Linked DNA regions of Homo sapiens: regions 2, 3, 4 and 5 are each linked to region 1. The links are contacts of gene promoters, found by promoter capture Hi-C in blood cells and fetal thymus (Javierre and others, 2016). All regions are on one chromosome and are shown on one strand. Each heading gives the region's core, a stretch centred on a gene start or on the middle of the fragment in contact. The rest is flanking DNA. Distances are from core to core; before and after follow the strand shown. Region 1 holds the start of OVCH1 (ovochymase 1). Region 2 has its middle 53 kb from the start of LINC00941. Region 3 has its middle 34 kb from the start of LINC00941. Region 4 has its middle 16 kb from the start of LINC00941. Region 5 has its middle 6.6 kb from the start of LINC00941.

What was found. Contacts are between HindIII fragments. The CHiCAGO score rates a contact against its expected background, and 5 or more counts as called.
Region 2: a contact is called between a fragment that was not itself captured here and the fragment with the promoter of OVCH1 in region 1, in 6 of 17 cell types (non-activated CD4 T cells, naive CD4 T cells, M1 macrophages and 3 more). The highest score is 8.5, in non-activated CD4 T cells.
Region 3: a fragment that was not itself captured here is called in contact with the fragment with the promoter of OVCH1 in region 1 in 8 of 17 cell types (naive CD4 T cells, activated CD4 T cells, naive CD8 T cells and 5 more); the score reaches 9.5 in naive CD4 T cells.
Region 4: a contact is called between a fragment that was not itself captured here and the fragment with the promoter of OVCH1 in region 1, in 14 of 17 cell types (total CD4 T cells, naive CD4 T cells, activated CD4 T cells and 11 more). The highest score is 17.0, in total CD4 T cells.
Region 5: a contact is called between a fragment that was not itself captured here and the fragment with the promoter of OVCH1 in region 1, in 3 of 17 cell types (total CD4 T cells, naive B cells and total B cells). The highest score is 9.2, in total CD4 T cells.

Annotation. Positions count from the first base shown.
Region 1 is chr12:29,494,668-29,499,535 of GRCh38, reverse strand. OVCH1 (ovochymase 1) reads left to right here and starts at 1,850. Exons shown (of 26, transcript NM_001353179.2): 1 at 1,850-1,913; 2 at 2,862-2,980; 3 at 3,258-3,355; 4 at 4,079-4,251. The coding sequence starts at 1,850. The HindIII fragment of the contact is 1,885 bases long and covers 1,416-3,300 here.
Region 2 is chr12:30,846,488-30,851,355 of GRCh38, reverse strand. No RefSeq gene overlaps it. Among named protein-coding and RNA genes, the nearest start is that of LINC00941, 53 kb to the right of the region's middle. RefSeq lists enhancers at 1-24, 2,473-3,017. The HindIII fragment of the contact is 1,485 bases long and covers 2,091-3,575 here.
Region 3 is chr12:30,827,442-30,832,309 of GRCh38, reverse strand. No RefSeq gene overlaps it. Among named protein-coding and RNA genes, the nearest start is that of LINC00941, 34 kb to the right of the region's middle. The HindIII fragment of the contact is 412 bases long and covers 2,096-2,507 here.
Region 4 is chr12:30,808,776-30,813,643 of GRCh38, reverse strand. No RefSeq gene overlaps it. Among named protein-coding and RNA genes, the nearest start is that of LINC00941, 16 kb to the right of the region's middle. The HindIII fragment of the contact is 7,474 bases long and covers 1-4,868 here.
Region 5 is chr12:30,786,607-30,791,474 of GRCh38, reverse strand. No RefSeq gene overlaps it. Among named protein-coding and RNA genes, the nearest start is that of LINC00941, 6.6 kb to the left of the region's middle. The HindIII fragment of the contact is 3,423 bases long and covers 526-3,948 here.

The DNA.
Region 1 (4,868 bases), core at 601-3,100:
TGTGGGTTTTGAACTCTGGAAACAAAGGGAGTTGTTCTGTAACAGGAAATGAGACAGTGCCCCACCGCATGGAGATTCCCAGGTTTGAAACAAAGAAACCACAGAGTATGCTGCAAAGCTGTGTGCCATGGGCAGAAGAGTGAAAGGGGACAGCACCTGTGAGCCTCACGGAAGGGCTGGCCATGGTTTGACCAGCAACTTGAATATTGCTGGCCTGACCGTTCTTGCACAGCACATGTTCACCTTCTAGTCCTTACCCTTTTGTTTAGTAAAGGCTTTTTGGTGGGTTTCATCTTACCTCTTGCTAAAAAGAAAGAGGGCTTTGGGTCCATGTGGGGGCTCTGAGCTTTTATTGGAGAACGGTGTGGCCCTGGAGCTGGCATGGTGGTTCAAATGGTCACCCCTGTGTGATGACTACAGGGAGGAAAGTGGTGAGGGCCACTGTTCAGGTAGCCACACATCTGGACATTCCCTGGACAGTACTGAAGCCTGGAGGTTCAATGTTTTATTTTCACAGAAGAGCTGCTTACCTTAAGAGCATGCTGGACACCCCCTATCCCCTAGACACCCAGGCATGAAACTAAGGAGTCATCTACTCAAACTGTCATCCGAGGTGTCTTTCCTTGAAATAAATACTCAAAAGAAAATAGTGCTACTCTCAAGAACAGCACAGTCCCATAAAACTATTGGTGATGACAGAATGTTCTGTATTTGTGCTGTTCAATATGGTAGCCACTAGCCACAGAGGGTAAATGGACACCTTTTGAAGATGCCACAGCGACAGGCATCATTCACTTTTTTTAGTCTTTTCTTCAAATGGTGTCCATTTACCCTCTGCTCTCTCCTGCAGTCACAGAGGTCATTGTCCCCAGTAGATTGTCACCTGCTTGTACCTGTGCCTGCATTCTCTCCACCTTGACTGCCTTCTGTTTTCCCATCTACCTGCTCATCTCCCACCTGCCCCCATTAGTTTATGTACCCTCCTACCTCAAGAAGCTTTTATTTCTATTTTACATGAAAGTAAAATAGAGCACTTGAACGTAAAATCCTCCAACTGGTGCTGAAGGACTGGTGGCCAGGTTATTTGATATATATGGAATGTCCACTTAGCCTTGCCTTAATTTTCTGACAAAATATAAGACCATTACAAATTCTGGCTTTGTCTTCTAACTTCAGCTTAACTTATTACAAAATAATATTCATGGGAAAAAAAGTGATATCTCACCACTAGATTAATTTTAATCATCTTAAATGATGGATCCTACAGTTTTGGGGCCATTCTGCTGAAATGGAGGACAGTACTGCCACCCAGAAAATGATGTCAGCTCAAGCCTGATCTTTCCTATTCACTCTTTGAAAACTCTAGAGGGTCAAGGGCAACAAGCTTCTTAGAAGGGGCAGTATTGTACTAAGCTTCCTGACCCTCCGCCTTTCAGAAGTCCTGCCTGTGTTTCGTGTGGGGGACCAGCTTCATTGCCCCTGAGCTTGGACCGCACTCCCCAGTCTGGGAATTCGCAGGGCTAAGCGTTCCAGGCCACTGATTGGCTTGCTGTGGATCTGCTAGCAGGAACCTCTGCACACGTGTGAGCACCACTGTCACCCCTTGGGCCACCTCGTGCCAGTCTCTAAGGCTGGGTGGCGGGGCACTGTGACACCAGGGGTGACCAGAGAGCGGCGGCAGCTCACAATGATCAAATGATCGTGAAGAGGGACACCTGCGAACCAAGGCGCCACGGCAGGTGCTGCCCATAGGCACCGCAGGAGGGGATAAAGGGCGAGACCCCCGCCTTCACCACAGTTTTCTCAGCCTGCAGGGAGGGAGGACGTGCGAGGCCGGTGCGTGGAGGCTATGGGCCTGCTGGCCAGTGCTGGTTTGTTGCTGTTGCTGGTCATCGGCCACCCCAGAAGCCTAGGTGAGCCTAGGGACCTGGGCACCAGGACTGCGGAGGAGGCTGAGCGTGCTGGAGAGGGAAGACTTCATTACTCCTTGCCTCAGGAAGTCGGGGTGGTATAGCCACACCTGAGGCATTTGGGAAGAAAGGGTGAGGGGGTGGTGCATGCTCAGATGTCCCCAAAGGAAGGTCTGGGCCAGACTGCCTTTTTGAAATTTTTTGCATTTTAGAGTTCGTTTGTAGGCACACCTGCTAATCATGTGTGTACTAAGGAGCCTCCTCCAAGGAAACCTAACCAAGTAGAAGTAACTTAAAGACAAATATCTCCCTTCCGGAGTAGTATAGGTCATTCCTCAGTATCTTTTGTTTTGTTTGTTTGTTTGAGACAGGGTCTGGCTCTGTCACCCAGGCTGGACTGCAGTGATGCGATCACGGCTCCCTCAAACTCCAGGGCTAATGTGATCCTCCTGCCTCTGCCTCCTGAGTAGCTGGGACCATAGGCACGTACCACCACACTTGGCTAATTTTTACATTTTTTTGTAGAGATGGGGTCTTGTCATGTTGCCCATGGTTCTGACCTCCTGGGTTCAAGTGATCAGCCTACCTGGGCCTCCCAAAGTGCTGGGATTACAGGCGGGAACCACTGCATGTGGCTCCTGGTATCTTTAACACAACCTAAATTTGCATCTTCCCAGAGTAAGCCCCAAGTCACCTACCAGAGGCAGCGCTGGCTCCTTCCTGCCCAGTGGTAACACAGGCTGAAAGGGAGCAGACAGGAGGCAAATTCCGGTCAACCCAGGTGACTGTGGGATATTCTGAAGAAAATATTGAGAGAAGAATGTGGTAGTCTGCAGCTAAGTGCTATCAGAATGTCTGTGCCAGGCCAGGAAAATCCAAATGGGAAATCTTGGTAAAGTGAACTCTTACATAAGGCTCTGTGTGTGCACACACACATGCTCTTCTACACAGGACTGAAGTGTGGAATTCGCATGGTCAACATGAAAAGTAAGGAACCTGCCGTGGGATCTAGATTCTTCTCTAGAATTAGTAGTTGGAGAAATTCAACAGTGACTGGACATCCATGGCAGGTCAGTGCAACAAAGGCATTGATTTCTTAATGAGAAAACAGTGAAATATTTCCTTTGTTTCGAAAGCAAGAATGCACGTTGATATGTAGTTTTTCTCCTGAACCCCTCTAGCTCTCTACCAAAAAGTTTACTTCGTAGGAACTATCTTACTATCCAATTTATGTCGGTATTTTAAGAATATTATGTCAGATTAGAAAAGTTGATCTCCAGTGTTTCCGATGGAGATACATATGTGGGGAGACATATTAGCTGCATTTGTAACTTTCTTCTTGGGTAGGTCTCCCTAAAATCAGATGAGCACCACTTCTGTGGAGGAAGCTTGATTCAAGAAGATCGGGTTGTTACAGCAGCACACTGCCTGGACAGCCTCAGTGAGTAAGTTGTGGATTTCCATTACTTGTCAGGCCTTGATTCCTGGCTATGCGACTGGCAGATTTGTTGCTCTAAATAGCAGGTTCATTCTCAGTCCCTTTCTTACTTTTGCCTCCCAGTGTACCCACCCACTGATCTTCCTGATTCCCAGAAATGTGTGTCTGTCCCAAGATTCCCAGTGCTTCCTGTTCTACTGAATTAAACAATCCCAGACATCATCTATAATTTATGGATTTAGTGCTTGGGTAGAGGTGGTGGTTACTTACTGTAATAAAGCATTAACAAGAAATGTTAAATGGATGCTCCAAAGTTTTAATCATCTGGGTTTAAATCATTAGGAGGGAAAAAACTGCAGAAATTACAAATATTTGACCAGATTAAAAGAGGGTACTAATAAGAGAAAAGAAGGAACAGTTCTAGAAAAAAACTTCTGTATCCTGTTACAAATGGCATTGCATGTGTGAACTATGGTTTGTATATCAAAGAAGAAAAGGATGCAATATTTAAATACTTGACTCAGAAAAATGGAAACATGACTGAAAACTACGATTTTTTCTAGATTAAAAAAAATATGACCATTGGTAATACTCAATAATAAGGAAAACCTTCTTCAAAGACTCAGGGATGCTTAAAGATACATTAATCACTTTTCATTTAATTACATCAAACCAAGAAGACTTGCGTAGGGGAAACAACTACTTATGAAACATTTTTCTTTGGTTTTAGGAAGCAGCTGAAGAATATAACTGTGACTTCTGGGGAGTACAGCCTCTTTCAGAAGGATAAGCAAGAACAGAATATTCCTGTCTCAAAAATTATTACCCATCCTGAATACAACAGCCGTGAATATATGAGTCCTGATATTGCACTGCTGTATCTAAAACACAAAGTCAAGTTTGGTGAGTATGGAGAGTTAGAATATTAAAAATGCAGTGGAGGAAAACTGCTAATTATGTACAAGTTAACTTTAATGTCTGTGTGGCTGTCTAGTAATAGAATAGCTAAGCTTTGTTTCTTTTTAAAATAATTTTGTTCGGTCTATAACCTATTGAGAAAATACTGTATAGGCTACATGTCCCAGCCACAAATTATTTATGCTTAACCTAACAATCAACATTTTTTCCCTTTCATTTATTTCCATTGATACATATTAGAAGTACATATTTTCAGGGTACATGTGATAATTTGATACATTCATATAATCAAATCAGGGTAATTAGGATATCTATTACCTTAAATATTTATCTTTTTGTATATGCTAGGAACACTTGAATTATTTCTCTGATCTATCAAACATCAGGTCTTACCTCTTCTAAGTGTATATTTGTATCCGTTAATCAACCCCACTTCATCCTCCCCTCCTCCCTACCCTTTCCTGCCTCTCATAGCCACAGGTTTACCCTCTATCTTCATGAGATTCAGCATTTTAGCTCACACATGAGGGAGAATATGTGATATTTGTTTTTCTCTGCTTGGCTTATTTCACTTAATATCCATGTTCAGTTTCATCTGTGTT
Region 2 (4,868 bases), core at 1,584-4,083, 1.4 Mb before region 1:
GGGAAAGGGAGACTCCCTTTCCCGATCTGCTAAGTAACGGGTGCCTTCCCAGGCACTAGCGTTACCACTAGACCAAGGAGCCCTCTAGTGGCCCTGTCCGGGTGTGACAGAGGGCTCACACTAGTCTTCTGGTCACTTCTCACCATGTCCCTTCAGCTCCTATCTCTGTATGTCCTGGTTTTTCCTAGGTTATAATTGTAGAACAAAGATTATTATAATATTAGAATAAAGAGTAATGCTATAAACTAATGATTAGTAATATTCATATATAATCATATCTATATTCTATGCCTAATATAACTATTCTTATTTTAAGTATTTTCTTTATTATACTGGAATAGCTTGTGCTTTTAGTCTCTTGCCTCGTCACCTGGGTGGCTTGCCGCCCACAGAGGGCCCAGGGGATTGGTTTGACCAGGTGTGTCATTCACGAAGCCCGTGAAAAACCCGGCCCTCCCACCTTATCCTTTTAATGTGCAAATGTGGGCCGCTCTGATGTCCTGAACACATGCAGTTACCTGGAGGTGGCCATGACACTTGGCATACCTGGTGACAAGAAGAAGGCACGAATCACCATATTGGGTGGACTCAGCTTCTAATGGCCTGCGTTTGCATATCAAAGCTTGCCAGCCTGGCCCTTTAATTTGCCTTTCTGTTAGAAAAGAAATGATTTGGCCAGGTGCGGTGGCTGATGCCTGTAATCCTAGCACTTTGGGAGGCTGAGGTAGGCGGATCACTTGAGGTCAGGAGTTTGAGATCAGCCTGGCTAACATGGTGAAACCCCATCTCTACTAAAAATACAAAAAAAAAAATTAGCCAGGCTTGGTGGCGGGCACCTATAATCCTAGCTACATGGGAGGCTGAGACAGGAGAATCACTTGAACCAGGGAGGCAGAGGTTACAGTGAGCCCAGATTGCACCATTGCACTCCAGCCTGGGCGACAGAGTGAGACTGTCTCAAAAAGAAAAGAAAAGGTCTGGGGTTGCTTTTATTAAAAGAAAAAGCCTTACCGAGAATTCCTTTTACCCTTTCTATCTGCCTAAAAATTATTTCTTAGTAACTCCTGTATCATTCCCCCGCTCAAGAGAAGCAAACCTAACTGCTGTCAGGGGGTGTTGGATGGCGATTCTTTCTGGCTACTTCCTGCTGAAAAGGGGTATTGTGTGGGGAACAGCAGTTGTGCCTTCTCCTGAGGTTTATCTAAGGGTTCTTGGAAGAATGGCGTGACCATGTGTAAAAAGTAAAGTAGAGGTTCCTCTTCAAAGACTTTCCGCCCCGTCTAATAAGAAATAAATAGTAACTTCTCTTAAAAGCAAAATTTATTCAAAGACCTGTGCTAACATTCTTAAATATCTGCTAGCCATAATAAAGAAATCAATGTAATTTATGTTCTTAGCTCCCACAATTTAGCCTAAATATTTGCCCTGGCATGCTTATACTGGTCCAAGCAAGCATTAGATCATAGTCTGTTCCTCTTCCTTATTTAAAAGTGTTTTTACCTTTCCCAGCATTCCACAAGTTACTTCCTCCTTCTTTTGTTCTCCTCTACCTTTGCCTCTTTTAAAAAGTTCTAAGTTGCTAGCCAATCGGGACAAATACAGAATGTGAGGTCCCATTCCAGCTATTGGAAACTGGACACAGCAGTAGGGTGGACGCGTCAGGTTATAAATGACCCTGTCTCCTTTGTTCAGTGTACTCTCCTGGCAAAACTGCTGGCGAGTGTACCCTTTCTGCAAGAAGTAAAAATGGCCTTACTAAATAAACTGATGCTCAAGTGCTATTTCTTTACAAGCATTTCAAACACGTGTGGCTTTGCTCGCAGCACCGTTTGGAGTTTGATTGCTTCCAGGTGAAAAGAGATAAATTTTATAAGAAAATTTAAAATATAGGGTTAGAATGTGAGTATTAAGATTACCACCGTGAGTGGGGGTCCTATAGACCCTGAGTTTCATACCTATTAGTTACACCATGGATTGCAATACCAGTATCTCGCTGTACATTACCAGAAACATTAATATAAAAGAAACATTTTCCTTGAGAAAACCATACATTTCCCCTTTGACTTGCCATTAGAGAATAACTTTAAGCTTAGGCCATTTTCCTAACTTGCAATATGCTTGGGAGAAATACATTAGTGGGTGGCTAAAATAACTTTAATGTTAATCTTGACAATTCCTTTCCTTTAATAATTTCATGACTTTCACAGACCCTCTTACAACATACTTAAACTTTCTGACTTGCCCTAAGCATTCATCCTTTAAACAACCAGTCATTTCCTTTTAGGACAAGTATTTACCAATGAAAATCTTTTCTTACATAAAATCTTCCTTTATAATCTTCTCTTTATAGCTTAGAGCACATTATATTACCAACCTTCAGAAAAAGTCCTATTAAACGTAATGATAGTAAAACTTTCATCCTTGCTTCTTATCCACAACTATTACTCCTGCTATAAGCGACACAATTTTGACTAAATCTTTCCTGCAACTATCAATCCTGTTATAAGGTTGATAATTAGGCAAAATATTACAGCAATTAGAATTTTACAACCAGAATTCCACATCTTGGGTGCTACAGTGTGTAGTTCTATTGTAAATAGTAGCGTGAGTATAACAGTTCTTACAAGAGTGGCATAGTGAATAATTTCCATTTAAAACTTTACTTACCAAGATATAACATTTCTCTTTGGGGAGCTACAAAGTTACAAATGCGATTCTATGAATAATTAAAATCTGCCTGCAAATATGCTTTAAAAAGAAGTTTTAATATTTGGTGGTGAACTTTGAGAGTAAAGGGTAGAAATAGCAAAAAGTATCTGGTGAGGCAGGAGTGGGACTGAGTAAGATGAGTAGCCCTCACTCAGTTACTTATCTTTTATGATTTTCAGCTTAAAATCTTCTCTTTCTGGCCCGGCGCGGTGGCTCGCGCCTGTAATCCCAGCACTTTGGGAGGCCAAGGCGGGCGGATCACGAGGTCAGGAGATCGAGACCATCCTGGCTAACACGGTGAAACCCCGTCTGTACTAAAAATACAAAAAAAAAAATTAGCCGGGCGTGGTGATGGGCGCCTGTGGTCCCAGGTACTCCGGAGGCTGAGGCAGGAGAATGGCGTGAACCGTGGGGCGGAGCCTGCAGTGAGCGGAGATCGCGCCACTGCACTCCAGCCTGGGCGACAGGGAGCCTCCGTCTCAAAAACAACAACAACAACAAGAACAACAACAACAACAACAAGAAAAAGAAAAAGATCTCTTTCTCCGCATTGATATTCAGGATATTTCTCTGGGCTGTTAGGGGCTGCTCCCTCAGCTCTTCAGGCTTTGACTTGAGTGTGATGTATTTAGAAGTCGATTCCTGTAACTTTTACTGCCGAGGGGGTTGAAAGAAGAACAGTGTAGGGCCCTTCCCAGCTTGGCTTAGGGAAGGAGACAGAGATGAGAGTTTGTACTAATACCAAATTTCCTGGGTTAAATAAAGGTGATCCTATTTTATTTCTGTAGGGGAATACTGATGTTTAATTTCTTTTTTGGAGCCTTCCTAGATTAGAAGGGCTTGAAGTGCATTAATGCCTTAAAGCTTCCTTGCCTCTGACTTAGCTTTGCCTGATTAGCCATTCTATTTCCTTTGGCTACCTTATCTGTTTCCTTTTGATGTCCCCTATAACGCATGACTGCTATTTTTTGTGGAAGAAAAACTGAGGATAATAACCTGCCAATTTCCTGGCAATATTTTATAGGAGATTCATTAGTGGTAAGAAAATGCCTTTCCTTTTGAATCGCAGCATGAGTATGGAGAGTTAAGAAAGCATACTTGGAGTTAGTATAAATGGCAGCTACCTTCCCCTTGCTTAATTTAAGTGCTCTTGTAAGAGCTATTAGCTCAGCTAATTCAGCACTTGTGCCTGGGGAGAGACGTTAAGAGTGACGACTGCTTATCCTGCCTTATGTACTTCTTGCTTTACCAGCTGTTTGTTAGCTAAGAGCTCCCCCTAGAGGACAGTAATCCTCACACATTATGTGAAGTGTAAACAGTTAAATTATTTCCTAGGGTTAACTTGGAGGCTTTTCTGACTAGTAGAGTTATTATGACTTGGAAGCATGTGTAAATAGGTCCTCCTAACTACAACTATGGTTGAGAAAAATATTGGATTAGAGTTTTTCCTGAGACACCCCTTACGGTCGTACTATGGGAAGAGGAGAGGCCTGGATTAGAGAGGAGAAAAGGGAGAGACTGGCTCTAATGTTTAGAAGGAGGTCTACTTTCCTTCCTTTAATTTCCAGAATTAGCCGGGGCTCCTGTGCTATAATGGCAGTTTGAGCCACTGAAGCCAGGGTTTGAGCCCCAGGACCCATCAGTCCTGCGGGACCATCTGTGAGACTGGTCCTGAACCCAGTGGCCTCCATCTCTGGGGGCAGTTCCATCTTCAGTGGTCTCTGCCACAGCCTGGACAGGGTTGAGGTGGCTTTGTCTTGCTTCCTGGGGGTTCCTTTTTAAAATGCCCTGGGCTGCCGCACCAATAGCAACTAGCGAATGCACCTTGGGGATCCTGGATTTTGCAAACCTGCAAAGCAGCTGCTAGAGCCTCTGTCCTTCTCTTGAGCTTTCTCTCTTTCTTTTGGGCCTCCTCCTGGTTCCTGTTACAAAAGACCAAAGTGGCTACCTTCAGGAGGTTCTCTAAGGTGCTATCTGGTCTTATAGCCTGCTTTTGTATTCCTTTTAATATCGGGAGCTGCCTGTGTAATAAACGTGTCCTTTAGAATGAGCTGTCCCTCGACTGAATCAGGGTATAAAGAGGTGTACTTTATTAGTGCCTCTCTTAGCCTTTCCGTAAAGGCTAGAGGATTCTCATCTGGCTTTTGGTTTATCCTAGA
Region 3 (4,868 bases), core at 1,052-3,551, 1.3 Mb before region 1:
TCATGGGAGTGGATTACTCACGAAGGTTTAGTCCCATCCCCTTGGTGCTGTCCTTGTGATAGTGGGTGACTTCTTGCAAGATCTGGCTGTTTAAAACCATGTGGCACCTCACTCTTTCTCTCTTGCTCCTGCTCTGGCCATGTGACATGTCTGCTCCCCCTTCATCTACTAACATGATTGTAAGTTTCCTGAGGCCTCCCTGGAAGCCAAGCAGATGTCAGCATCATGCTTCCTCTACAGCCCACAGAACTGTGAGCCAATGAAACCTCTCTTCTTTATAAATTACCCAGTCTTAGGTATCCCTTTATAGCAATACAAGGACAGACAAATACAGGTGGGTAGCCCCGAGAGAGCTCTGCCCCTCCCCTGTCTGAGTGTCTCAAAGCCAGGATCTTTTCCTGGTACCCTCAGGTGCTTGAGGATAAAGTGGCCCCCAGCATGCAGGGTCTATAGAAAGAAAGATGGAGGGAGGTACTGAGCTGAGCACTGCTAGGAAAAGGAAGAACACTTAGCTCACACCTCAAGAAGTTGTGACTAGGTGAGCAAAAGCCCCCATCCCAGTGGGGAAAGTGTTACCTCCCAAGGCACATCCTGGCATAGGAAGATCTGGAGCTCAGGTGGGATTCAGGCTCAGCAGGGCCTCAGGCTCACTATCCTTTGCTCAAAGACACTATCAGAAGAAGATATCAGGAACTTCTCAGCTGTGCCAAACAAAGGCCCAAAGGCCCAGCTGTCTACAATGGAGGGGAGGGACAGCCTTCTCTCTAGGGCCACACTGCCCTATATCGTATGGCCCAGGACCCTCCTTTCAAGTTGGTTCTTTGCATACTCAAAGCATCATCTCATCTGTTACTATATTTGTGACTCACAAGAAGCTTTTGAGTCAGGCAGGGCATGTGTTAACCCAATTTCATAGAAAGGGAAACTGAGGCATAGGGTGGGCTAAGTGATTTGGGCTAGAGTGAGTGGGGGTCAGAACTCAGATCTTCTTGGATCCAAATCAGACACCCTTCTCCCACGTAAAACCCTCACCCTAATCTTAACACTTTTGTGGCTCCATGGCTTCCTCAGTGATTTTAGGAGGAAAAAGGCCACAGCAAGTGTGTTGGTGTGCACATGTGCATGTGTGCCTGTGTGCTCGTGTGCATGCCTGCATGTGTATGTGATGCCTTACTTGCTGAGGGAAGGGCAGGAGGGTTGGCAGTCTCTGATTTTTTGTCTGGATCTCGGACATTTTACGTGCCACTCCTGAGACAGCCAGAGACCTGTAGTGTGTCAGGACAAGGGGTCTCAGGAGGAGACATGTGAAGTAAGGGTGAGTGAAGACCCTGAGTCCCACAGGGAGTCCAGCCTGTTCCCCACAGAGATGTGAGCTCTGCAGTCCTCTGCCCAGGCCAGCCAAGGTTTGGGGAAGGGTCTGGGGGAGGCAGGGGCAGATCCATGGAATTTCTCCTCTGGACATGATTTTGGGAAGAAGAGGAGATCAAATATTATAAAACATCTGCACAGCATGTGGCATCTCATTAGGGGGATGGGACCACACCCATATCTCTCTCTCTCTCTCTCTCTCACACACACACACACACACACACACACACACACACACACACACACGACTCCCTTTTTTAGCTTGGCCTTTCCTCACCAGGAAAACTTTCAAGCATTCTTTTTAGGCTGTAACCAATAGTCATCAATATGTTTTCCAGTGAGACTCAGTGCACACATCCATATATTAACAATTAACAAATTTTTTATGCAAAGCCTTATAATAAAGTCCCAGAAAAGGACACTGTTGGCAAATCTAGGGCTGAGATTTTTGTTCTTGCTGGAATTTTTGGAGTAGAGTGTTTAAACTGCAGACCTAGATCCATTAGGAGGTCGTGACATCAATTTGGTCAGCCCTTTAAAAGAATTGCACAGTGTAGCACAATAGGAAATATCAGAGTGCATCAAAAGTCACAAATGTTAGTATTATGTGGTGAAACATTTGGTTCATTGCCAATATGTGTGTGTATCTAGAAAGTCTCCTTGTAAAATGCCTTGATGACAGTGGGTTACATTAAAAAACATTAAAGACACACTGTTTTTAGAAGCTTTCCTGAAAGTACTTTATATTGAGGAAGGACTAGCTTTTTAGGCTTGTGAAGAAAGGAAAGGTGTGGCTGGAGGTGAAGGGAGGGAGGCCCCGGGCCCCTCAGGGGGTTGGGGGGAAAGGCTCCAGACAAGCTAGCACAGCATGTGGCTTCCTGGGGTCCAGAGCTTTCTGGTCCAGAATTGGGTTGGAGGAGTAGCAGAAGTGTCTCCTGTCCCCCTGATGAAGAAAGAAGAATCTAGTGAATAAGGAAAAGCATGGAAATAGTAGAGACAAGGAGCTCTTGACAAATCCATCAACCACCCTGTGCCTTCATGTCCCCATCAGCAAAATAGGATGGTGGGGGTGATAGACCTTCATGTTCCTGACAAAATGAAACACAGTCAACACAAAACCAAAAGAAACATTGGAAGCTTCTTAAGAGATGACATTCCCTAAATTGATTTTTGGGGAATACAAACTCATGCACAACCACCTATCCTAGAAGTCAGGAAAAGTGTATGCTTTAACCCATTTTGGCTCTTCTTGAGTGCCTGGTGCATGCAGGCACTCTGATAGGTTGTGAATAAACCAGTCCCCATACTCAAGGAGGTTTTCCAAACTAGTTAGGAAGCTAAGAGGGTCTCAGAAGAGGAAGATAACATGGAGAGCTCTAACTAATTGCCCACAGGGTGGTACAAACCCTGAGGGGTACAGCCATTCAGAGAAGGTTGAGGGCAGGATGAGCTTAACATGTACGATGCACAAGGTCAAACAGCTGGAAGTGCAAGAGTAGGGGTGACTTGTCTAAGAGGAAATATAATAGGGAGGGCTTGACTAGTTGAGAATGAGAGCAAGGCTTGGAGGCATAAGAATGTGAGGTCTCACTCAACAAAGGCTGTTGCACGTCTGTAAAGACTCAAAGTCACTGTGCCAGGAACAAGGGTGGATTCACAGAAGATCAAGGCAGCAGTGTCTCTCCTCAGGGTGGGGGTTGCACCAGGGACCAGCAAGTTGATGGCTTCATCTGCAAAAGGAGGTTAAAAGGCAACTGTGCCTCTCAGACTGCAGGCCGACACACTAGGGATTGTGAAATCAATATTTTAATGAATGAGAACAGACTGAAGTAGACTAGAACTTACCAGTGTGCAATGTATTCACACTGGAAATTTAGCTGCACAATAATCCATCCACCGACATGGAGAAATGACCCAAGAAACTGCCAGCAACATGGTCAAGAGTAGAGAATGGCATCCAAGGAAAACATGTCAGGGAGATTCCCTGGACGGAATACCTCTTGGCCTGGCTGGCTCCAGCTGAGATACTGAAATGCAAGATTCCATTAGGTGCATCCGTGCGTGATGGGAATGTGTCAAATATATTCTCACTGTGAGTCACCATCAAAAGACCTGGATGCCATTGACTTAATACCTCCCAAGATTCCTTACAGTGCATCTAGTTGCTGACTGAATGATTGTATGCTTGTTGTAGGCAGCTGCTTATGTGCCCTTGGTGATGAAGAGGTTGGCAGGGCAGGGAGAAATGGGGGGTGGCTGATAAGTCTGGGTTAAAGTTGGAGAGCAGCTGTGGCACATAGCAGCAACACATGCAAACACAGGAGCCGAGGCCTTTCCCTGAAAGAACCTAAAGGGCCTAGAATGTTTTCAACTCTCTTGACACCTTTGACCTGAGACTGCCTTCACTGTCCTAAATCTGAAATGCAAGTTCATAGGACAGGCTGTGGATGAGGAGCTGGAAACTCCCAACCAGCAGGTCTGGAGACATCTGTGATGCCGGGGGCACGGTGGAATTTCCTGGGAGGGAAATGCATCAACCTGTATGTAAGCACAATATGGGGGGGCAGGGGGAGGATCTCTTCACTAAGGAAAAGAGCAAACTGCTTTCTGGGGGTGGCAGCTGTCCCTACGCAGTGGCATTTCTCAGCCTCCAGGAACGAGCCCCAAGAGTTCTGTGTTCCAGGCTCTCCTACCGGGGTGATGAAAATCAACAATTGACACCCCCAGAAGAGGACAAGAGAGACATCTGGCAATCCCTGAAGACGGGCTCCCTCTGCTCTGCCTCACTATTAAACACACACATTGCTCTCCAGATGTGGCCAGTGGTCCCCTCTGAGGGGACACCGGTCAGTGCTGAGGGTTGATTGAGAGATCATGGAAACCTGACTCAAACAACCTCCCCAAAGTGGGCTGGGCAGATTTTCAAAGTGGCGAAACAGAATTCCAAAGGCAGGATGTGCCCAGATGGGCCTTGGACATATGCTGCACAGTATGTCTCAGAGATAAGGTGACAGGGTGGAGAAAGGAGGTGTGCCTGGGGCCACAGACATTGCTCCTCACGCCCCAGCTGGGTGTGAGCCGTCTCAGGCTAGCATGCTCTTTCCCTGCCCTGTTCCTGGTTCTCTGGCTGGCTTTGCAGGTCAAAGGGCCTCCTTCTACCTGGAATGTCTGAAGTGACAGAAGAATTTAGGGGGACACATCTCCCAGAAGACGGTCCTGCCCTGCGTCTACTTGACCCTCTGGTGGCTCATACATTTGGACAGGCTGCCAGCCACCACCCAGCAGGATAGATGGTCCCCAGGATGAGGGACAAATCCCCGAGAGATCAGTCAGTCTTCCCTGTCTCCAACTGCTGGTACCTCCTACCCCTGGCCCTAACGGCCCCTCACTAGGGCTGCCCACTCTTCCTGGGCAGGCGAGAGCCTTAGCAAGGTCGGTAATGTCATAAGGTGGATCTAGGAAATACTGCTGAGTAGGAACTCTTCCCAGGATCCTGAAGA
Region 4 (4,868 bases), core at 1,641-4,140, 1.3 Mb before region 1:
GGAACATTTTAAACCCATGCCTTTCCTTGCAAATCTGTGCTTCACGTTTTAAAAGCAACCTCTTACACAAATTGTAGCTGCCTAATTTTCAAGAAGATCATTCACCCTTTTGCTGTCTGATGGGATTCTGCGAGGTTTCTTTTGTTGTTGTTATTGTTTTTCTGGATAGCAACTGTTAACCATTGTAATGTATTTCACTTTTGTTGTCCTTTGTGTATATTTACCTACGTTTTACAAAATTGGTATCGCACTATTCATCATGAACCTTTTTCCCTTGAGTTTTCCCCAACATTTTATTGTGAAAATTTTTAAACAGAAAAGTTGAAAAATTGTACAGCGAGCAGCCATATATCTACCACTTAGATTCTCATTACCATTCTATGATATTTGCCTATCACTTATCTGTCCTTTTATCCATTCCTCTATGCACCTATTAATCCATCTTACTTTTTTAAGGCATCTCAAAGCAAGTTGTAGACATTACTACACTTAGCACTTCAGCATGCATATCATTAACTAGAGTTCAATATTTGTTTATAGTTTTTTAGATAACATTTATGTACAATTAAATACATACATTTTTAATGTAACATTAGATGAATTTTTACAAATATATATACCTGTGCAACCTAAATCCCTATAATATATAAAACATTATAATCACTCTAGAAAGTTTCCTCATGTCTGGGGTTGCCAGATTTAGAAGGAAAAATAATAATAAGGTGCCCAGTTACATTTGAATTTCAGATAAATAATGGCTTTGTGTGTTTGTGTGTGTGTGTGTGTGTGTGTGTGTGTGTGTGTGTGTGTTTAAGTATGCCCCCACTGCTGCATGAGAAATTCTTGTCCTAAAAAAATCATTTGTTGCCGAGCTGGGCATGATGGCTCACACCTGTAATCTCAGCACTTCGGGAGGCCATGGCAGGAGGATTGCTTGTGGTCAGAGGTTCGAGACCAGCCTGGGCAATATAGCAAGGCTCAGTCTCTACAAAAAAAGAAAAAGAAATATTAGCCAGTTGTGGTGGTGCACACTTGTAGTCCTAGCTACTTGGGTGCTTGAGGTGGGAGGATCACAGGACCCCAGGAGTTTGAGGCTGCAGTGAGCTATGATCACACCACTGCATTCCAGAGTGAGACCTTTTCTCAAAAAAAAAAAAATACTCATTGTTTATCTGAAATTCAAGTTTAACTGGGCATCTTGTATTTTGTCTAGCAACTCCACAAATAACCCTTCCTAGTCAATCCTGAATCCTTTATCCTCTAGATGCATCTACTGTCTGATTTTCTTTTTGTCATCTGTGATGGTTAATATTAGTTGTCAAGTTGATTGGATTGAAGGATGCCAAGATAGCTGGTAAGCATTGTTTCTGGATGTGTCTGTGAGCGTGTTGCTAGAGGAGATTGACATTTGAGTCAGTGGACTGGGAGAGGAAGATCCACCCTCAATGTGGGTGGACACCATCCAATCGGCTGCCAGTGTGGCTAGAACAAAGCAGGCAGAAGAAGGTGGGATAAGCTGGCTTGCTGAGTCTTCTGGCTGCCTTCTTTCTCCCGTGCTGGATGCCTTCTTCTGCTCCTCCTGCCCTTGGACATCAAACTCCAGGTTCTTTGGCTTTTGGACTCTGGAACTCGCACCATTGGTTTTCCAGGGTCTTTCAGTCCTTTGCCCACAGACTGAAGACTGCACCGTCAGCCTCTCCAGTTTGAGGCTTTCGGACTTGGACTGAACCACTACCAGCTTCTCTCTTCCCCAGCTTGCCGATAGCCTATCATGGGACTTTGCTTTGTAATTGTGTGAGCCAATTCTCCCTAATAAACTCACACACACACACCCTATTAGTTCTGTCCCTCTGGAAAACCCTGACTAATACAAGATCATAGATTAGTTCTGCCTGTTTTACAAGGATCTAACTTCATAAATTGGAATCATAAAGTATGTCTCTTTTGTGTTATACTTCTTTCACCAAAATAGCATTTTCAAGATTTATTCATGCTATTTTATCTAACATTAGTTTGTACTACTTTATAAATTTGCCACAGTTTTTCCTACCGATGTACACCTGGATTGTTTTCAGTTCAGGGCTATTATAAATAGAGCTTCTACAGACATTTTTGTACAAGTCTTTTTGTGGACTATTTTTTTTTATTTCTCTTGGGCAAATACCTAAAAATGTAATAGCTTGGTTACAGGGTATATGTATATTCAGTTTCCTAAGAAACAGGTAGATCTTTTCAAAGTAACTATACAATTTAACATTCCCACCAACAGTGCATGAAAGTTCAGGTTGTTGCAAATCCTGGCCAACATTTTGTGTTTCAGTGTTTTTATTTTTAGTCATTCTGGTAGGTGTGTAGTGGTTTTTCATTGTGGTTTTAATTTGTATTTTTCTAACAATTAATGATGTTAAGTACTTTTTAATGTTCTTGTTGGTCATTCATATATATTAATTTGTAAAATGTCTATTGAAATGTTTTGCCTATTTTTAAAAGTTGGGTTGTCTTTTTGTTATTGAGTTAAGGAGATTTATTTATTTATTTATTTATTTATTTATTTATTTATTTATTTTTGAGACGGGGTCTCACTATGTTGCTCAGGCTGGCCTTGAACTCCTGGGCTCAAGCGATCTGCCTGCTTTGGCCTCCCAAAGTTCCAGGATTACAGGTGTAAGCCACCCCACCTGGTCAGGAGTTTTTTTAAAATATATTCTGTTTATCAGTTATTTGTCAGATATATGTCTTGCAAAATATTTCCCTATGTCTTGTCTTTTTTCTTAATAGTGTGTTTGAAGAACAGAATTTTTTTTTATTTTTATGAGGTTTCATTTATCATTTATTGCTTTTTATATCCTAACAAACTTTTACCTATGTCCAATTCACAAAGATATTCTTTTGTTTTCATCTGGAGACTTTATAATTATAACTTTTATGTTTAGGTCTATGCTCCACTTGAATTAATTTTTGTGTATGGTGTGAGGCAAGGGTAGAGATTCATTTATTTCTGTAGAGAGATACCTAGTTGTTCCAGAACTATTTCTTAAAGAATTTTCTTTTCCCATTGGCACCTTGTCAAGAACCAAATGGCCATGGTATGCATCTGTTTGGGAGTTCTCTATTTATTCCATTGACTTACTTGTTTATCTTTATCCCAGTACCTCCAGTAAAGTTTTGATTTCTGTAACTTCAGAATAAGTCTTAAGTCCAGTAGTGTAAGTGCCCCACCTTTATTATCCCTTTCCAAGGTTGTCTTGGATATTTTAAGTCCTTTGCTTTTTCATATAAAATTTAGAATCCTATGAATAAACCTGATGGGTTTTAAAATTTTTAAAATTTTTGTTTTATCAAATATGTTTTCTGGGCCAGGTGCAGTGGCTCACTTGTAATCCTAGTACTTTGGGAGGCTGAGGCAGGCAGATCACCTGAGGTCAGAAGTTCGAGACCAGCCTGGCCAACATGGTGAAACCCTGTCTCTACTAAAAATACAAAAATTAGCCAGGTATGGTGATGGATGCCTGTAATTCCAGCTACTCAGAAGGCTGAGGGAGGAGAATTGCTTGAACCTGGGAGGTGGAGATTGCAGTGAGCCGAGATTGTGCCACTGAACTCCAGCTTGGGCAACAGAGTGAGACTGTCTCAAAAAAAAAAAGATTTTCTGAATATATTGAAATGAGTTTTCTCATCTTGTCATGAGATGAAAATTTTTTTCTTTGCTCTACGGTTGTGGCGAATGTGCTACTATTATTGTATTGTAGTCTATCTCTACCTTCAGAGATAGTAATGTTCGTTTTATATACTTGGAAGCTCCAGTGTTGAGTGCACAGATATTTCTAATTATTATATCCTCTTGCTAAATGGACCCCTTTGTCATTATGTAGTGACCTTCTTTGTCTCTTTGCAATCTTTGATTTGTGTCTCTATAGGTGAAGTGGGTTTCTTATAGGCGGCATATAGTTGGGTCTTATTTCTTTATTTGTTCAGCCACTCTATGCCTTTTAATTATAGAATTGAGTCCATTTACATTCAGTGTTGTTACTGAAAAGGTAGGACTTATTAGTGCCATTTTCTTCCTTATTTTCTGATTGTTTTGTAACTCCTCTCTTTCTTCCTTTTCTTACTGTCTTTCTTTGTAGTTATTTTCTCTGGTAGTATGTTTTAATTGATCACTTGTTATTTTTAGTGAATCTGTTGTTGGTTTTTGTACTGTGGTTACCATCAGGCTTACAAAAAACATCTCATAGGTGTAACATGTGAATTTAAAGAGATAACAACTTATCTTAGGTCACACAAAAAATAGGAGCAAACAAGGAAAAAAACCCTCTACACTTTAACTCCACTCCTGCAACACACATTTTGACTTTATATTGCCTCAATTTACTTATTTTATATTGCCTGTCTCTTATCAAGTTGCTGTAGGTATTATTGTTTTTAATAGGTTTGTCTTTTGGATTCATACTAGGGTTATAAGTATTTATAAGTATATAAATACACAGTTATGGTATTAGACTACTCTGGGTTTGTCCGTATACTTGATTTTACCAATGGGTTTTGTATCTTCAAATGTTTTCTTTATTTACATTAATGTTTTTTCCTTTCAGAATAAGTAATTACCTTTAGCATTTCTTGTAAGATGAGTCTGGTGGTGGTGAATTCTCTCAGCTTTTGTTTGTCTGGAAAAGACTTTATCTTTCCTTCATATCTGAAAGATAACTTTGCTGGATAAAATATTCTTGGATGTCTGCTTTTTTTCACTCAGCACATTGAAAGTGTCATCTCACTCTTTTTTGGCCTATACAGTTTCTGTTGAGAAGTCTCTTGCCAGATGAATTAGAGCTCCTTTGTATGTTATTTGTTTCTTTTCTCTTGCTGCTGTT
Region 5 (4,868 bases), core at 988-3,487, 1.3 Mb before region 1:
CAGAGATGTTTGCTTTCCTTATGGAAACTAAAGATAACATCTTAACATATGTCCCTGAGTTGTCTTTCAGGGCCCTCACTGAATGGATCTGCTGGCCTGTAGACCTCAGATAAGTGGAAATTGAAAACTGAACTCTGACCACATTCTTTGTCCTAAAATTTTTCCAGAGGGGCTTAGAGAATGTCACAGTCCCCTGGGGGCTCTGGGGACACAGAGCCAAACTATATCATTCTGCTTGACATTTTTCTGCTGATCCCAGTTTTTTTTTTTAAAAAGCTTTTCCTCCTAAACCAATTGCAAATGAGAAAGTCTTTGAATCTACCTATGACATGTAAGCCTGCTTCACGATATCCCGCCCTTTTAGGCCTAAGCCAACATGTAACCTCCATGCATTGATTTACAATTTTGCCTGTAGCTTTTGCCTGTGCTACAGGCAAAATCATAAAACAATACATGGAGGTTACATCTACCCCTGCTTTTAAAAATCCCAGCCTGCAAGCCATCCGGGAGTTCAGGTCTTAAGCTTGAGCTGCCCTGATTCTGCTTGCTTGACGCCCTGCAATCAGTGCCTCACTTTCTCTCACTGCTATCCCAGTGTCAGTGATTGGCTTTACTGAGCCAGGTGAGTAGATCGAAGTTCAGTTCTATAACATGTCTCTCTTTTGTCTTAAAATAACCCAAGTTTATTTTTGGCTTAAGGGCTTTTGAACTTTCTATTCTTGAAGCACTCTTACTCAGATATTCATTGAAGTTGGTCTATTTAGGGGAGAAGGCATTGAGAAAAAGATAATTAAAAATGATTTTTTAGGCTTTTGGTTTGATCAACTTGGATGGATGGTGGTTTTCCCTTTACTGAGGTGTGAATAGTGGGGGAGGAGATGTGGAATTTGAGATGTCTGTTACTAGCTTACGTTTATAGAATGCTTAAGTATTGTATAACAAATTATCCTGAAACTTAGTGGCGTAAAGCAGCATTTATTATCTCATTGTTTCTGGAGATTAGAAATCTAGTTGTGGAGTAGCTGGGTCCTCTAGCTCTGGGACTCTTGCAGGGCTGCAGTTCTAGGACTCAACTGGGAAGGATTGTCTTCCTAGCTCCCTTGGGTGGTTGCCAGCAGAATTCACTTTCTTGCAGGTTGTTGAACTAAGGTTTCATTTACTCACAAACTGTCAGCCAGAGGTCTCCCTCAGTTCCTTGCCACATGGACCTCTCCATAGAGCAGCTCACAACATGGCATGACTTCATCAGAGAAGGCAAGACACAGTGCTAGCAAGATGGAAGTCACAGTCTTTAGTAACCTAATCACAGAAGCCATGTTAAATCCGTATTAGTTGGGGTCCTCCAGAGAAACTGAACCAATGGGATATATATGTATATGTGTGTGTGTGTGTGTGTGTGTGTGTGTGTGTGTATATATCTATATCTATATCTATATCTATATCAAGATGTATTATGAGGGATTAGCTCATGTGATACGGAGGCTATCTGCAAGCTGGAGGGCCAGGAAAGCCAGTAGTGTAGTTCCACCCTAAACTTGAAGACCTAAGAACCAGAAGCAAAGATGTTCAACGGCAGGAGAAAATGGATGTCCTTGCTGAAACAGAGTAAATTTGTCCTTTTTTTTTTAGAGGGAGTCTTGCTTTGTCATCCAGGCTGGAGTGCAGTGGTGCAATCTCAGCACACTGCAGCCTCCACCTCCTGGGTTCAACCGATTCTCCTGTCTCAGCCTCCTGAGTAGCTGGGACTACAGGCACCCGTCACCAGGCCCAGCTAATTTTTGTATTTTTAGTAGAGACAGGATTTCGCCATGTTGATCAGGCTGGTCTTGAACTCCTGACCTTGAGTGATTTGCCCACCTCAGCCTCCCAAAGTGCTGGGATTACAGGTGTGAACCACAGCACCTGGCCAGTTTGTCCTTTCACTATCTTTTTGTTCTATCTGGGTCCTCAATGGATTGGATGATACCCACTTACATTGGTGAGTGCAATCTTCTTTACTCAGTCTACTGATTCAAATGCCAATGTCTTACGGAAATATCCTCAAAGATACACTGAGAAATAATATTATACCTGCTATGCGGGCATCCCTCAGCCTCATGAAGTTGACATTAAAAAATTAACTGTCACACCCTCACTTTTGCCAAATTCCATGTATTAGAAGCAAGTCATTAGGCTCAGCCCACACTCTAGGGGAAGGAATTATACAAGGGCTGATCACCAAGAGGTGGAGACCACTGGGAGCTATGTCTGAAGCTGTCTATCACAGGTATGTGGGCACTATCCTAAAATGCTTTACATGTCTTAAGTCACATAATCCTTCCAGCACAGCTTAAGATAGATATGCTATTATTGACTCAATTTCACAAATGAGATATCAAGAAGTAAAGTAACTTGCCTGTGGTCAAACAGCTAAAGTCAGTGGGGTTTGGAGATTTGAACCTAAGCTGTCTTGGTTCAGCATCTGTATTCTTAACCTGTTTGCTGCACTATTTGAAATGGAGGCGTCCAGTAAGAGCTGGAATCTGGACTTCTTGGGAGAGGATTGGACTGGCAAAAGAGATTGGGAGGATGAAATTAACGAATCCTAGAAGAATCACAACTGATTTTCAATTTGTTTCTCTTTTGCACCCAGACTTCTCTCCAGTGCCAAGGAGATAACTTTTCTCCTAGCATCTTTGTAACAGTGAAAAGGAGGCCTAGCTCAACAAACTCCATTTTGCTCCTAACACCCCCCTTCCCCCTCCAGGTGGTACCTTTTAGATTAACTAATTTTTATTATCTCTGCATGAAGGCCAAGAAAATGATATGATGGAAGGAATTTAGTTTGTAGTTTAACTTTAAAGCAAGGATAATAGGATGCTAGTTCCTTCCCAAAACTAACCTCCAAGGAGGTAAGGAGTGTGTACATACAAGGAACAATGTTATTTTAAAGATTTATGGGATCCTAGCTTTCACTCGGTATATGAAAAAATAAAATAATAATAAGAAATATATAATTAAAGATTTATAGGAGCATTGTGACCTGACCAAGGACAAAGAAGTTTTCCAACTCCCTCTCAGATGCTCTCTGCTGCCCAGATGCCTATAACCATCAGTCACCTCTTGAACTCCATCTCCTTCTACCCTCTTCCCTTAACAATAAAGGGACCGGAAATGCACATTGCCTTAAGACAGTTCTTTAGGACATTAGTCCATCATCTTCTCGGTTGAGCAGATAAACTGAGTTATTGCCCTCTTGCCCCAACACCTTGTCTCGTGACTTATTGACTGTCCTGCAGTGAGCAATACCAGCTTAGACTCCACTACATTATCTTGTAGTATTCATCTGTTCCCTTACTTTTGACAAGTGTTTACTGACTACCAACTATGTGTAAGGAAAGTGCTAGATCCTAGGGAATATATTTTTAGCTCTCTGGATACAGAAGATGAAATTTAGTTTGAGAAGTTATTGAACAACTTGTTCAAAACATCTACTTAACTGTCATCTATTTCAACTTGAACTGCCTTTCTATTAAATGTACCACTATTAAATGTTGTGATGGTACTAGAAAATCAGCAATTTGTAAAGCATTTGCACAAATTCTAACAAGGCTTACCACTTCGGCTTTTTCTATTATCTACTTAGCAATCAAAGCAACGCCTTAATTTAACGTATGATATTGAAAATAATTTTACAATATTTCCAATTAAGTTAATTTTCACATTGCTTTTGTGCTCTTTGTCATCACATGGAGAATGATGAATTCTATTTTACATTTCATTAGTGAACATAAGGTGTGTTTTTCCATTTGGGTCACTATTAGCTCTCTATTATCTAATTTCAAAAATACTGAGTTCAGTACCCAATCTACAAATTATACAGTAACCACTTCTCTAAATGAACCACAATTTAGAGTTAAGCTCACAAGCCATTTCTTCATTTGTGCAAATGTGTAACAAGCCAAAGCTTAATGGTTCATTTCAGTTAAGTAGGTTGCACAAAATTTAGAAGTTTGTTAGTAAGAAATGTGACCTAGAACCATTATGGAAATGAAGAAAAGATGAAATTACACAGTTTAGACCCATATTATCCAACTCCTAATTTAGTCAGAGATTATTGAAGTGACAACTCTCCTTTTTATGAAATAAAATACTTGAAAAAATAAGAACATTGTTCTGCTTTTAATCTCTGCTAAATAGACAGTTAGTTACCAGGAGAAATATGTTGTAAAAACCAGCCTATGAAGAATATCAGGAAAGAAAGTAATGTTACCTGGAAAATCTAACCTACTAAATTTTGATAAGCATATGAGCCACCAATCTAGTTACATTGCCAGGAAATTCTGATAAAAGGCAACTATTAATTTCTAAAGGATAAATCTGACAGAATCTCAGGATAATTCCATTTGGACTCCTTATTTTTTATTATTATTATTATCTTTTTTTTTTTTTTTAAATTTATTTATTTTTTTTTTTGAGACGGAGTCTCGCTCTGTCGCCCAGGCTGGAGTGCAGTGGCGGGATCTCGGCTCACTGCAAGCTCCGCCTCCCGGGTTCACGCCATTCTCCTGCCTCAGCCTCCCAAGTAGCTGGGACTACAGGCGCCCGCCACTACGCCCGGCTAATTTTTTTGTATTTTTAGTAGAGACGGGGTTTCACCGTTTTAGCCGGGATGGTCTCGATCTCTTGACCTCGTGATCCACCCGCCTCGGCCTCCCAAAGTGGGACTCCTTATTTTTTTTTAAGTTTTTGTGCTATTGCTATGGAAATATTCTGATGATTTACATGGTTGTGCTAGAGTTTTTTAATTTGTCTATTAGAATTGTGAGAACTTCCTTTACAAAAGTGCTCATTTTTATGTAGCTAAGAGACCAGTACAGATCTTCTCC